4 separate regions of the Homo sapiens genome follow, and regions 2, 3 and 4 are each linked to region 1. The links are contacts of gene promoters, found by promoter capture Hi-C in blood cells and fetal thymus (Javierre and others, 2016). All regions are on one chromosome and are shown on one strand. The core of a region is centred on a gene start or on the middle of the fragment in contact, and the rest is flanking DNA. Distances in the headings are between cores, read along the strand shown. Region 1 holds the start of TMEM121 (transmembrane protein 121). Region 2 holds the start of BTBD6 (BTB domain containing 6). Region 3 has its middle 25 kb from the start of FAM30A. Region 4 has its middle 91 kb from the start of FAM30A.

What was found. The method cuts DNA at HindIII sites, captures the fragments that hold promoters and counts their contacts. A CHiCAGO score of 5 or more calls a contact.
Region 2: the fragment with the promoter of BTBD6 here is called in contact with the fragment with the promoter of TMEM121 in region 1 in 8 of 17 cell types (non-activated CD4 T cells, M0 macrophages, erythroblasts and 5 more); the score reaches 8.4 in non-activated CD4 T cells.
Region 3: a fragment that was not itself captured here is called in contact with the fragment with the promoter of TMEM121 in region 1 in 1 of 17 cell types (erythroblasts); the score reaches 6.3 in erythroblasts.
Region 4: a contact is called between a fragment that was not itself captured here and the fragment with the promoter of TMEM121 in region 1, in 7 of 17 cell types (M2 macrophages, total B cells, erythroblasts and 4 more). The highest score is 16.6, in M2 macrophages.

Annotation. Positions count from the first base shown.
Region 1 is chr14:105,524,366-105,527,978 of GRCh38, forward strand. It overlaps TMEM121 (transmembrane protein 121), which reads left to right and starts at 2,218. Exons shown (of 2, transcript NM_025268.4): 1 at 2,218-2,288. The HindIII fragment of the contact is 18,865 bases long and covers 1-3,613 here.
Region 2 is chr14:105,246,998-105,250,607 of GRCh38, forward strand. BTBD6 (BTB domain containing 6) reads left to right here and starts at 1,536. Exons shown (of 4, transcript NM_001387567.1): 1 at 1,536-2,088; 2 at 2,160-2,250; 3 at 2,363-2,481; 4 at 2,643-3,610. The coding sequence starts at 1,715. All of the region lies in intron 5 of BRF1 (BRF1 general transcription factor IIIB subunit), which reads right to left. RefSeq lists enhancers at 1,162-1,952, 2,744-3,533 and silencers at 1,328-1,887, 2,088-2,137. The HindIII fragment of the contact is 26,340 bases long and covers 1-3,610 here.
Region 3 is chr14:105,941,750-105,945,143 of GRCh38, forward strand. It overlaps IGH and the pseudogene IGHVII-1-1. Among named protein-coding and RNA genes, the nearest start is that of FAM30A, 25 kb to the left of the region's middle. The HindIII fragment of the contact is 994 bases long and covers 1,377-2,370 here.
Region 4 is chr14:106,007,576-106,010,815 of GRCh38, forward strand. It overlaps IGH. Among named protein-coding and RNA genes, the nearest start is that of FAM30A, 91 kb to the left of the region's middle. The HindIII fragment of the contact is 1,496 bases long and covers 595-2,090 here.

The sequences.
Region 1 (3,613 bases), core at 968-3,467:
AGGGGTGAGCCACCATGCCTGGCCTGTTGTTTTTGTTGTTGCTTTTTGTAGATTCCTTTTATGAGATTAAGCATGTTCCCTTTGCTTTCTAGTTTGCTGAGAGTGTTTATCAGGGATGAGTGTTGAATTCCGTCAAATACTTTCTTTGAATTGATTGAGATGATCACATGGTTTTCTTCTTGAGACTAATATGGTGGATCACATCGATTTATTTTCACATGTTGAACCAGCCTTGCCTTTCTGGGATAGCCTCCATTTGGTTGGGGTATTTGTGTGTGTGTGTTTTTAATGCTGCTTGATTCTATTTGCTGATAATTAGTTGAGGGTTTTTGTGTCATGTTGGCATTGGCGGCTGTTGATTGTCTTTTCTCTTGCAGGTTGGATTTCCTGATTCTTCACATGCAGAGTAATTTTAGATTGTCTCCTGCACATTTAGACATTATGTTATGAGACTGGTCTTATTTAAATCCCATTGAGAATGTTGGCATTTTGTTTTATCATGCAATCAACCTAGTTGGTTTCAGGCCACAAGTTCAAATAGGCTCCTGTGGGTCCTGCCTTCCATGTCGGTTTTGTTTTCAAAGCCTTTGCAGTGGGACTCAGATCTGTCCTTCGTATGCACTGCCCAGTGGCCAGTGTGGGACGTGGGCAGTGGGCTGTCCTTTTGTTCAGTTCTCAGCCTTTGGGATGTGAATGAGGGTTTAGACTTGTACATCATGTATGGCTTGCACAACTTCCTGGGGTTGCTTTTTTTTTTTTTTTTTTTTTGAGACAGAGTCTCACTCTGTTGCCCAGGCTGGAGTGCAGTGGCAAGATCTCGGCTCACTGCAACCTCCATCTCCCGGACTCAAGCAATTCTCCTGCTTCAGCCTCCCGAGTAGCTGGGATTACAGGTGTGTGCCACCACGCCCGGCTAATTTTTATATTTTTAGTAGAGATGGGGGTTTCACCATGTTGGCCAGGCTGGTCTCGAACTCCCGACCTCAGGTAATCCGCCCACATCGGCCTCCCAAAGTGCTGGAATTACAGGTGTGAGCCACCACGCCCAGCCCATGGATTGCTTTCTACTGCTTCTCCCTGCCCACCATCTCTCCAGCGACAGGGGACCACATCTCCTGGGGCTGGAAAGGAAGGCTCTTCTGCCTCAGCGTTTTAGGTGCTTGTAAACCCTATGCCTTGGTCATGGCTTTGGTGGGATACCTAGGGGCTGGGGCATCAGAGAATGGAGAAGAGTAAAAAAACAACCACTACCAAAAAACCCCATCCTCCCAAACCCTAACATCCCCCCGGGCATTCTCCTGCACCCTGGGAGCATTAGGCGACCTTTTTCTTTCCTCCCCTTGTGCCAGGACTAGAGAACTTCTGGAGCTCTCTGTCCTCTTCTGGCTTTCAGGCCGTGTTGAGTCCAGGCCCGGGGATACGGGAAGAGAATCTGGAAGTTCACTACCAGTTGGGTGGTGCCTCAAATTCTGGTCTTTCCACCAAATCTGGTGTCCCTTTACCTCTCTGACCCTCAGTCTCCTCCTATGTCAGAGGGAAGTCACAGCAGTTCTGGGAAGGAGGGCAGGCAGGCAGAAGGTGCCCTCGGGTTCTTCTCTGGCTCACACGGGATGGACAGGATGTGGGGGGAGGGGCTTAGTGCCACCTCAGTGACAAAATGAAGCCCAAGTCCCCAAACCCTAGCTTGCCTCCTGGACGGGCTGGAGAAGAAGGTGGGGGCCGCTCATCATTCCTTTCCTCTGCCCTGAGAAGAAACCTGGGAAGGCTGGGTTTCTCCCCAAAGAGGACAGAGGGTGGCGCGGAGGGCCCCGGCGGCCAGGCCAGCCCCGCGCCTACATCCCTGTCAGCTCCTGGGCCGGTGGGCGCCTGTCCGGCTGAGTGGGGTCGCTCTAGGGGGCGGCAGCGGAGTTTCAGGGCGCGGGGGGCACTGGGCGGGACCCTGGGATTCTGGGCGGTGGGTGAGGAGGGTGGAGACGGGACTCCGCGCCTGGGGGTGCGCGAGGGCGCCCCGCTCCCCAGAGCCACCAGTCCTGCGCGCCGCCGCGCGGTGCTGTCGCCGTGGCAACCGGCGCTGCGGAGGGGGCGGGGCACCGGCACCCCCGCGCTCCCAGGTCCCCAGGTCCGGCGGGGCTCGCGGGCCGAGGGGCGCGGGGCGGGGCCTCTGGGTCGGGGGCGGTGCCGCGCGGGCGGGGGAGGGGCGCGGCGGGAGGAGCCGGCGCGGCCCCGGCAGTGGCGGCAGAGGCTGGGCGGGCGGGCCCGGGAGCGGCGCAGCATCTGCGGGCGGCGGGGTAGGCGCGGGCGCGGGCGGGACTGGCTGGGTGCGCGGCTGCGTCCGCGGAGGGGGCGGCGGGCCTGGGCGACCCTGCACCTCTGGGCCGTGGGGACTGTGGGGTGGGGCGGGGGCCGATGCGGCAGGGGTGAGGCCTGGGGCCGGCGGGGTGACGGGGACCCGGCCCTGCGTGGGGAAGCCTCGGGGGGACAAGCAGAGACGCAGCCTGCTGGGAGCGGCCCAAGCTCTGCACCGGCCCGCGGCGGGAGCACAGCAGCCCCCTCCCGCCCCTCCTCCCGGGGGCTCCGAGGGGTGGTTATGGGGCGAGGGTCCTTGCGGGGCCCGGGCAGTGAAGGGCCTGGAGGCCCCAGAGTCTGTGCCAGGTCTGAGCCGCGGGGCGTGGGGGGAGGAGGGGCCTCGGCCGGGGCCCAGGAGACCCAGGACAGGTGGGCCTGGGGCCAGGTCCCTACGGAGAGGTGGCCGGGCCGGGCTCTGGCTTGCCGGGGTAGGGGCTCCGCTAGGGGCTGGAGTCCGTCCCTTCGCCAGCGCAGAGCCCCTCGGCCCGCATCTGCCAAGTGACTGAGGATCGAGCGACAGCGTAGTGGGGCGGAGGGGCTGGAGGCACGGCCGGAAAGGGTGAGCGGCGCCGTGGCTCCCCCGCTATTTATTTGGCCCCGCCACGCGCGGAGAGGGAGGAAATTCTCAGGCTGCGGCTGCAGCTAGGGGAGGCCCAGGTGGGCCTGGAATGGGCCCAGAGAGGGCTTCCTGGGTCAGACGTGTAGATCCAGTGGACGTGAAAACCGGGTGAGTGTCCCGGTGGGACCCAGAGCGCGGGGAGGCTTGGAGGCAGGGGCATGGGCTGAGGACCCTCAAGGCACCCTCCTCGCGACCTGTCAGAGCTCCGAGGGGTGGGGGTGTCCTGTGTGTGGCTGTGGGGATCCTGGGCGGCGGGTGCTGGGTGGGGGCAGGGGTGGGAGTGCAGAGTTCAACGCTTTCCCGGATCGGTGGGGCCTGCGGTGTCACCAGGGCAGTCCGAGCGCCCGACTGTCACGGGGACATTAAATTTTATGCCTTTGTCTAGACACGGCAGTAAACGGAGCCCCAGGCCTGGGGCTGTGGAGGGGGTGAGGGGCTGGCTGGGAGTAAGCCTGTCAGTGACTTTGGGGTGGGTGCGGGTGTGCGGGCCTCCATTGTCACCCAGGTGTGCACAGGCCCAGGTGCGGGGACTCCGACAGCACGGCCATGAGGACCAGTGCCAGGTGTGTGACAGAGGTGCAGGGGCCTGTGGAAGCCCGACGGGCCTTGGTGGACGGGCTTCCCGAGATTCGAGGGCAGCCACAGGCA
Region 2 (3,610 bases), core at 286-2,785, 280 kb before region 1:
TTGCTGATGGACATGTAGGCTGTCTCCACTCTGGCCATTTGTATTTCTCCTGGAAACTGCTTATGCCCGTTACCTTTTTCTATGGAAACAGACGGCTGGGACAGAAACCACGGCCACAGCAGCCAGCGTGTCTTTGCCAGTGGGGTCCCACACTATGAAATCGCAGCTGTGGCCTCGGTGGGTGTGTCCTTGGCGGGTGCATCCACACACTTTCTCTCGGAACTTTCCGGACTCTCATGCATATGCTACAGCTTTCCAAACGGCTTGGCCGTGCGGAGTTACGCACCCACCTGCAGCAGGTGATCTCCAGCTGCTCTGCATTCCACCAACACTACGTGACAAGTCTCAAGTTCAGCCGCCTGGGGGCTCGGGCACCCCATTCCTGGGAGAAATGATGATTTGTGCACTCTGGGCCATTGCATGGTGTCTGTTCACGTCCTTTGCCCGTTTTTTAAAAAACTGGGTTGTCAGCCTTTTCCTTCCTGACTTGTAGTTGCTCCTCCATCCTGGAGAGTCCTTTGTTGAAAATACCGCAAATATCTTCTGAAGAGGACTCTCCCAGGGAACATTCACTACAACTGTAACGACCACAGAGACACAGAGCTCCTGTTCACTGTTTAGCCCAGGACTGCGGTGACAGGTGCACCCATGACCCGAGATGCTGGCTGCGTCCTGTGGGGTTTCCTGCATATGGAAGTTTTAAAAGTCTAAAGCCTGGCGGTCCAGGAGGTTGCGTGTGTGTCCTCGGGGAGGAACCCTCCTGACAGCCAGGCCTCTGGAGCTTCGTCTGCACGCGAGCTTGGCATGCACCAGCTGTGCGGCCCAGGCCAGGTGACACGGCCTCTGAAGTCTGGTCTCCTCATCAGCAAAGCCAGTGCCCCATGCCACGCACCTCCCAGGATTAGCCCCAGGCCGGGAGGCTAGAGGCCCCACAAGGAGCGAGCCTGCGACTGCGATCCACAGGCAGAGCCACAGAGGCAGGGCGCGCCCTGGGGCCCAAGCTCCAGGGCTGCAGGCCCAGGGCCAGATCCTGACTTGCCCACCCGCCGGCTGTGTGACCTTCAGCGCGCGACTAACCTCTCTGTGCCTATTTCCTCGAGGAAAATGCCGGGAAATAGCAGCGCCTGCCCCTGTAAAGCCCTCAGAGCAGAGTGGACCGCGCTCTCTGCAAGCGCTGGCTGCTGGCGTCCGTAGCAAGCTAAATCGCGAAGCATCTGAACGAACGAGGAAGCCCAACGACCATCCCACAGGCCGCGGCCAGAGGCAGACTCCGGAATGCAAATGGCCAAACAAGCAGGTCCACCTGCGTTCCTAACCAAAAGATCGCTAACTGAAGAACGGGCGCAAGCACCTGCGCATGGCACTGCGGGTCTGGGGGCGGCCGCCTGCCAGCGCCGGGAGCCGCCTTCCACGGCTACCTCTGCACAGCGCGCGGCTCGCGCCGGTTGCTGGGCAGAAGCTCGAGCAGCTTCGAGGATGTCGGGCCTGGGGGCGGGGCCGCGAGGCAGCGACGTCGCGCGGGGCGCGGCCCTGACGCAGCGTGACGCACCGGCGCCGCGGCGGGTACGGGCTCGGGCGGGCGGGCGGGCGGGACGGCGCCCCCCGCGGCCGGGCCTGGCCGGGCTGCGCTAGGCTGGGCTCGGGCAGGGTCGCAGGGGCGGGGGTGGCAGGGGAGCGGGTGGCAGCCCCGCGGGTCACAGCGCCGCCGCCGCCCATGCTGCTGCCCCTAGCCTGCCTGCACGGCCGCGTCGCTCAGTGCCTGACCTCCTTGCTTTTGCTTGCAGAGCCGCTCCCGAGGCCCCGGCGCGGCGCGAGGGCGCGGGGCGCGGCGTCCACAGGCGCCGAGGCTGCCCCCGCCGCCCCGCCCGCGAAGATGGCGGCGGAACTCTACGCTCCCGCCAGCGCCGCGGCCGCGGACCTAGCCAACAGCAACGCCGGCGCCGCCGTGGGCAGGAAGGCCGGGCCGCGCAGCCCGCCCAGCGCCCCCGCGCCAGCGCCGCCGCCGCCCGCGCCCGCGCCGCCCACACTCGGCAACAACCACCAGGAGAGCCCCGGCTGGCGGTGCTGCCGCCCCACGCTGCGCGAGAGGTGAGCCCGTGCCCCGCGGCCCCCGCGCCCGCGCGCGCCCACGCCCCCAGCCCGTGCCTCTACCTTTGCAGGAACGCGCTCATGTTCAACAACGAGCTCATGGCCGACGTGCACTTCGTCGTGGGGCCCCCGGGGGCGACCAGGACGGTGCCCGCCCACAAGGTGGGTAGCGGCGGCCCCTCTCGGAACGCGTGCCCCGTCCGCCCCGTCCGCCGTGTGGCTGACACGCAGCCTGCGGGAGAGCCAGGCTCACGGCGGCGCTTTCTCCTCCCAGTACGTCTTGGCTGTCGGCAGCTCCGTCTTCTATGCCATGTTCTACGGAGACCTGGCGGAAGTCAAATCTGAAATTCACATTCCAGACGTGGAGCCCGCAGCCTTTCTGATCCTCTTAAAGTAAGTCCACTCTACTGGGGAGGGACGGGTGGGTCCGTTTTAGGCGGCCTCCGGAGGCTTCTGAAGGGAAGCACACAGGAGCTGATGGACTCCTCTCCCAGGCCCAGCCCCGCGATGGGTGCTTGGGAGCCAGCCCCTGACGCGGGCCCTGCCTCGCCTAGGTACATGTACAGTGATGAGATCGATCTGGAAGCCGACACGGTGCTGGCCACTCTGTACGCTGCTAAGAAGTACATCGTCCCAGCATTGGCAAAAGCCTGTGTCAACTTTCTGGAGACAAGTTTGGAAGCCAAGAACGCCTGCGTCCTGCTGTCCCAGAGCCGGCTGTTTGAGGAGCCCGAGCTGACGCAGCGCTGCTGGGAGGTCATTGACGCACAGGCCGAGATGGCCCTACGGTCCGAAGGCTTCTGTGAGATAGACCGGCAGACGCTGGAGATCATTGTCACTCGGGAGGCCCTCAACACCAAAGAGGCGGTGGTCTTCGAGGCCGTCCTGAACTGGGCCGAGGCGGAGTGCAAGAGGCAGGGGCTGCCAATCACCCCACGAAACAAGAGGCATGTTCTGGGGCGAGCCCTCTATCTGGTCCGAATTCCAACCATGACCCTAGAGGAGTTTGCCAACGGCGCTGCCCAGTCAGACATCCTGACTCTGGAGGAGACCCACAGCATCTTCCTGTGGTACACGGCCACCAACAAGCCCCGCCTGGACTTTCCCCTGACCAAGAGGAAGGGCCTCGCCCCGCAGAGGTGCCACCGATTCCAGTCTTCTGCCTACCGCAGCAACCAGTGGCGGTACCGCGGGCGCTGCGACAGCATCCAGTTTGCAGTGGACAGAAGGGTATTTATTGCAGGGCTGGGCCTGTATGGCTCCAGCTCTGGGAAGGCTGAGTACAGCGTGAAGATTGAGCTCAAGCGGCTCGGGGTGGTTCTGGCTCAGAACTTGACCAAGTTCATGTCAGACGGATCCAGTAACACCTTCCCGGTCTGGTTTGAACACCCGGTCCAGGTTGAACAAGACACCTTCTACACGGCCAGTGCCGTCCTGGACGGCAGCGAACTCAGCTACTTTGGGCAGGAGGGGATGACGGAAGTGCAGTGTGGAAAGGTGGCCTTCCAGTTCCAGTGCTCCT
Region 3 (3,394 bases), core at 624-3,123, 420 kb after region 1:
ATGCAGGGCCAGTTTCCTCTCAGGAACCTACCCTCATTTCCTTGGTAGCCCATTTCATGCACTGGGCTCTGAAGAGTTCTGGTGCAGGATGAGGAGGTGGGGCTGAGGTCTGGACAGACAAAGGTGTGCGTCCCATGGGGCCCACATCGTGGGGCTTGGGAATGATGATGTGTCCAGGAGAGGGCATAGCCTCCACGCCTCGTTCTTGAGAGGGCCTGTGGTGTGGCTTTGGAAATTGGATAAGAATGGTGGCCGCAGCTGCTGGTGCTATAAGAACGGTCACAGCTGAGCAGCGGCCACAGTCCCCCGAGAGTGTCCTCTCCAAGGCACCGTGCAGCTGCTAACACCACCCACCCAGTGCCTGCGCGTCCTGAACTACCCAGAAAACCTACCTCAAGTTGAAAGGAAAAAGCAAAACTGTCTCTGTTCAGAGATTATATGGTTATAGACATAGAAAATCTTAAAGAATCTGAAAAAAAAATAAATCCCCAAAACAAAAACGGACTGTTCAAACTAAGAAAATCAAGGACATTTGAGCATATTAGCACCAAACAATTGGAAAATTAATTTTGAAAGGAAAAAACTTGTGAAGACATAAAAAGCAATCAGGATATACCTTAGAAGAAACATAAAACGATGTGGAGTTCTTTACACAGAAAATTGTAAAACATTGCTCAGAGGCTATGAACATATGAAGAGATACACCACATATTGGATGCATGGATTGGAAAACTCAGTGTAATTGAGAGACAGGACTAGCTGGATTTCCTAGGCCGACTAAGAATCCCTAAGCCCAGCTGGGAAGGTGACCACTTCCACCTTTAAACACGGGGCTTGCAACTCAGCTCACACCCGACCAATCAGATAGTAAAGAGAGCTCACTAAAATGCTAATTAGGCAAAAGCAGGAGGTAAAGAAATAGCCAATCATCTATCACCTGAGAGCACAGCGGGAGGGACAATGATCGGGATATAAACCCAGGCATTCGAGCCGGTAACAGCTACCCTCTTTGGGTCCCCTCCCTTTGTATGGGAGCTCTGTCTTCACTCTACTAAATCTTGCAACTGCACTCTTCTGGTCCATGTTTGTTACGGCTCGAGCTTCGCTTTCGCTCACCGTCCACCACTGCTGTTTGCCCCCGTGGGAGACCCACCGCTGGCTTCCATCCCTCCGGATCCATCAGGGTATCCGCTGTGCTCCTGATCCAGCGAGGCGCCCATTGCCACTCTCGATCGGACCAAATGCTCGCCATTGTTCCTGCACGGCTAAGTGCCTGGGTTCGTCCTAATCGAGCTGAACACTAGTCACTGGGTTCCACGGTTCTCTTCCGTGACCCACGGCTTCTAATAGAGCTATAACACTCACTGCATGGCCCAAGCTTCCATTCCTTGGAATCCGTGAGGCCAAGAACCCCAGGTCAGAGAACATGAGGCTTGCCACCATCTTGGAAGTGGCCTGCGGTCATTTTGGAAGCGGCCTGCCACCATCTTGGGAGCTCTGGGAGCAAGGGCCCCCCAATAACATAATTAAGATGCCAGTTTTCCCTAAATAAAATCTATAGTTTAAATTTAATCCAAATCAAAATCCCATTCAACCCAGCAATTCAATTACTGGAATTTCTCCAGGGTATAAAAGCACATGTGCTCCAATGATACAATGAATGCTTAGTAATCACAAGCAAATACCTTAAATGTCTCATAACATCTTTCACACAAAAGCTGTTGCATGTCTATTAGCTAATGATTCTTACATCTCATCCGGACCATGCAGCATGAGCAAAGGGATTTCTAACCTTCCGAAGTCTCAGTACTAACTGAGGACTTTACACAAATTGGAAATGGTCACGTGCATTTCATGGTGAGGGTGGGGAGCTTTTGCACTGGAAAGTCCTGTAGAGAAGATTCCGTTATCTTAGTAAAATCACACAGTTTTACTTTGCAGATTGGGATTACTATCGGATAAAGGGTTACTGATGTGGGAAGTTTTCCTACTTTATTATCCTTTTAGGTTCCTATGTGATACGGTTTGGCTCTGTGTCCCCACCCCAATCTCATCTCTAGTTGTAATTCTGATGTATCAAGGAAGGGTCCAGGTGGGAGGTGATTACAGGCATCTGCCACCACGCCCAGCTAATTTTTGTGTTTTTAGTAGAGACAGGTTTTGCCATGTTGGCCAGGCTGGTCTCAAAGTCCTGACCTCAAGTGATCCGCCTGCCTCGGCCTCCCACAGTGCTGGGATTACAGGTGTGAGCCACTGCACCCGGGCTCCAGGCTACACTTGAAGCATTTCTTAGGTTCAGTTCAGAGCAGCCTTTAGTCCTGAATTAATGTGGCACCACTACTCACGAGATTACTTCGGAAGATTGCTTGAAGCTTTACATATCTCAAGGTCTTTCCACCCTGGCTGGGAGAACACAAACAATGCTTTCCTTGTGTAGGCTCTGTGTAGTTTTGGGTCCACAGGTTTCTGGTGATTTCCCCCTGATATCGAGTAGTTTCTTTTCATGCAGGCATAAGTCAGGCATAAGTCAGTTCTCAGCCCCAAACCTGAGGGATCCCCCTCCCTGCGGCAAGTCTCCAGCTGTTCTCCCCCCGCCCCACCCCGGCCCATCCTGGCTGCACAGCAGCCTGCTCCCCGGTGCTCCTCCCCTCGGGCTGCTGCTGCCTTGAACTCTGCTCTCTGTCCGCTCAGCTCACTAAGCCTTTCCGTGTGTCCTGGCAGCTGCTTTCAGGCAATAGCAGGATTCGTTCATTTGTTTTTCTTTTCTCAGGGGTTATGATCCTGTGATGCTTGTTTCCAAATGTCTGAAAACTACTTTTTCAAAACATTTCCACCTCAGTGTTCTATTTGTTTAAGGAATGTGGGTAAGTGCATTTTACCCACAGGGCTTGAACCAACATTCAAAATTTTATGTTAGAACCTGTTAAAGACAAAGGGCAAAACTGATCACAAACTCAAATGCAGGACAGTTGCACTGCGATTCTTTTTTCGTTAGGTTACAGCCCTTATGTGTTGTACTCCGCGGGCGCAGGCTGAGAGCCGTCTGCACCTTTGTTACTGCGGCCCGACGCCCTCTTGCCAGGGCCACAGCAGCATCCCCCGGGTCACCGAGCCGGGGCTTTCCCACGTGCCTCCTTACAATTGCTATGTTTCTGCAAGCAGAGGCCCAAGGAAGTATGAAGCACTCCTCAATATCTAAATTAGCTAGCAAAACTCTACAGGGTGATTAAAAAAAAAAAAAAAAAACAACTGTGAAGGTGAGAGGTGCAGTGAGTCCTTGGCAGAGGCCGTTTGCTCAGGGAAAGTAAAACCAATGACCTGACTCAACGCGGACACGTCTGCCCCGCCCCCTAAAACCTGCTTCTGGGGCCGCTGTGTGGTCTGGAGCGCCGCC
Region 4 (3,240 bases), core at 93-2,592, 480 kb after region 1:
TGTACACAGCACCAGGACAGGATCCCAGGGATGGGGCTGAGGACAGACACTAGCTAAGTGGACCCATTGAAAACGTGCGGATCTGCTGAGGTTCACACTCCTGGAAGGACAGATCTTGGAGGGTTTGGAGGAGGAAGCAGCCACTGTCGGTGACTCAGGATCTGCTGCTCTGCGGGTCACCTCGTTGGCAAGTAACAGTGGGCAGGTGAGTGTGGTTCATCCCCTACAGGGACACCAGGCTTCCAAATGCCCCTCTTCACCAGGAAAGAAAGTGGCTTTGTTCATACTGGTTGCTCCAGCCGTCTGGTCATCCTGTCTTCCTGACCTTCTTCCCGTGTCCCTCAGGGCTGTGACACATGGACAAAGACACTTTCTACTCCAACCATTGATTCCCCAAGCCAGCTCCCTCTAGAAAAGCCATGATGTCTTCCTGGTTCTGTGTCCCTGGCTGAACCAGAATGGACACACATGGATATACCAAAGTGTCAAAGTGGAGGAGAGGAATCTTGGCAAAGATCACTCAGGAAAGAGAAAGGAATTCATTTGTGTGCAATGAGAGGGTGTGGGGCATGTCTGGAGGCTGCAGGAGCCAGAAGCTTCATATTTTTTTAGTGACCTCGGTTTTGTCTCCCCTGTTGTTGTGAGGCTTCCCTGAGTTCTCCTCCTCAGATAGACTCTGTGCCTTTTCACGCAATGACCTATAGGAGATGTTTACACCAAACAAAAAGCCTCAAACCTGGTTTATATTCTGATCTAAATTTTCAAAAGATAAACCCAAGAGAGATTCAAAGAAGTGATTATAAAATATCAGGATATAGCACTTGGCTGAGAAAACCTTAAACTCATATTATTTTTATGAACCATATGCATAACAAAACTGCCCAATTCCTCCACTTTATCAGAGACTGCCTGCAGGATGAATTTCAATGCCACCTAATTTAGAGTAGGAGCAAAACTTAAAATCCTCTGTAGGTCTGAGTGCCACTAATAACAACAACAACAAAAAATTTCAACCATTATGAAGTTTTAAGAGATGCCACAATGACAGCCTGGGTTGATAGGTGATGGCATTTTCCCTGGGCATATTCTGTGAAGAGTGATTACGGTAGCTTTTTCTTCTAATGAGGAGAAAGCAACAGAGAAAGTAAAAAATAATAATAATAACAATAATCACAAAACAGAAAAAAGTGGTCCAAATTATTTAACAAAAAAAGCACTAGAAACTGACACAAATTAAAAGGAGATACATTGATTACCTAGCAGAAAATTCAAAGTAAACCTTATAAATATGTTCACTGAGCTAGGAGAAGAATGCACGCACAACATGAAAATATTAACAGGGACAAAAAAGGGAGAGAGATGAGATACGATGATTTGTGGCTTAACAGTAGGGATACACTGGCCAGGCGCAGTGGCTCACGCTTGTAATCCCAGCACTTTGGGAGGGCAAAGTGGGTGGATCATGTAGGTCACGAGTTCAAGACCAGCCAGGGCAACATGGTGAAATCCCATCTCTACTAAAAAATAGAAAAAAAGAATTAGCTGGGCGTGGTGGTTCATGCCTGTAATCCCAGCTACTCGGAAGGCTGAGGCAGGAGAATCGCTTGAGCCTGGGAGGCGGAGGTTGCAGTGAGCCAAGATTGTGCCACTGCACTCCAGCCTGGGTGACAGAGTGAGACTCCATCTAAAAAAAAATGAAAAACAGTAGGAATACATCTGAGCAATGTGTCCTTAGGCAATTTGTCATTGTGCAAGGATCATAGAGTGTGTTTACACAAACCTACATGAAATACCTTGCTACACCCAGGCTGCGTGGGATAGCATAGTGCTCCTAGGTAACAAATCTGTATGTCATGTAAGTGTAGTGAATACTGTGGGCAGCTGAATCACCATGGTAGATGTTTATACAGATGAACATATCTAAGCATGGAAAAATGCGGTGAAAATACAGTATTATAATCTAATGAGACCTTTGTCCTGTAGGTGGCCTGTTGTTCACCGAAATATCATGATGTGCACGATTCTATTCAAGTTGCTGAAAATAAAAACAAAGCCAAGAAACTTCCAAATAAATATGTTACATGGATTAAAGCTTTTCTTCAATAATGCAGGAGGTTTGAGAAGTTTCCCAAAAAAGTAAAAAGTGGACAAGTTCATCACCACTAGACCGGCCTTACAGGAATGCTAAGTGTCTCTGGCAGGTTTCCAGAACAAGGAAGTAGCTGCATCAGCTCCACTCTGTTATCTGCCAATTGATAGATTTGCATAGTTTTTAATTTTAATTTATCTTCTGTTTTTTTCCCTCCATAAACTCCTTCTCCCTTCCTTTCATAATTCTGTCTATTAATGCAACTCATATTTAGCTGAAAATGCTGGGGTCATTGGAATAAATTTCTATTTTTCCTCCACCAAATCTAATAAGCTGTCTCCAGGGGTGTCCATCTCCGTTTTCTTTTCTGCCATTCCCATGGGATAATTTCCTTGTTCCTATGTGAGTCCAGCCCTCATCACCATGGGCCATCCAACCATCATGCACCCAGGAACAGCTTCAGGAAATGTACCCTGCCAGCTGCCTATCATCCTCCACCTGCACAGTGATCATTCCTTCAGCTTTCACTCATGCTGGAGGGCTTTCTACACAAAAGGGCATTTCACACCCACTCCCAGCACAGTTCTGGGACCCTGTATACCTCCCAGAGACAGGTACACATCCTTCCCCTTTGTTGTTAATTTTGTTTAATTTATTTAAAATTCACTGGGAAATCACTGATGATGGGGGTGACCAGCCTGTCCATTCCATCTGACGGCCCCACCTGTGAGGTTGGCCACCCTAGTGTGCTGTGCTCATGGGGCCATCTGGACACACACAAACACCAGGTGTGTGAGTTATTAGAGGAGACCCGGGGTCAGCAGGTGTCTGTGCCCCACAGGACACAGGTCTGTCCTGCAGTAGAGCCTGCATGACCTGGAATCATACATGTGCATGACCCGTGGTCTCAGCACATCAGTTGAGGCCAGCTTCAGGCAATTCCTGTGTAACCTGCCCTGAGTGCCCACAGAGGACAGATGCATGACAAGGATGTAAGGGAATGATGTGGGTTAGGGGAACTGAAGCTCAATCTTTACTGAGGCTTTACTCGGCACCTGGACCTTATGGAAGACTAAGAAGAAGAGAACAAGAGCCCGGCCCCAAATATCTCCTGGTTTAAGGTCAGCTTTAGTGGGATTTTAGAGAGTAGA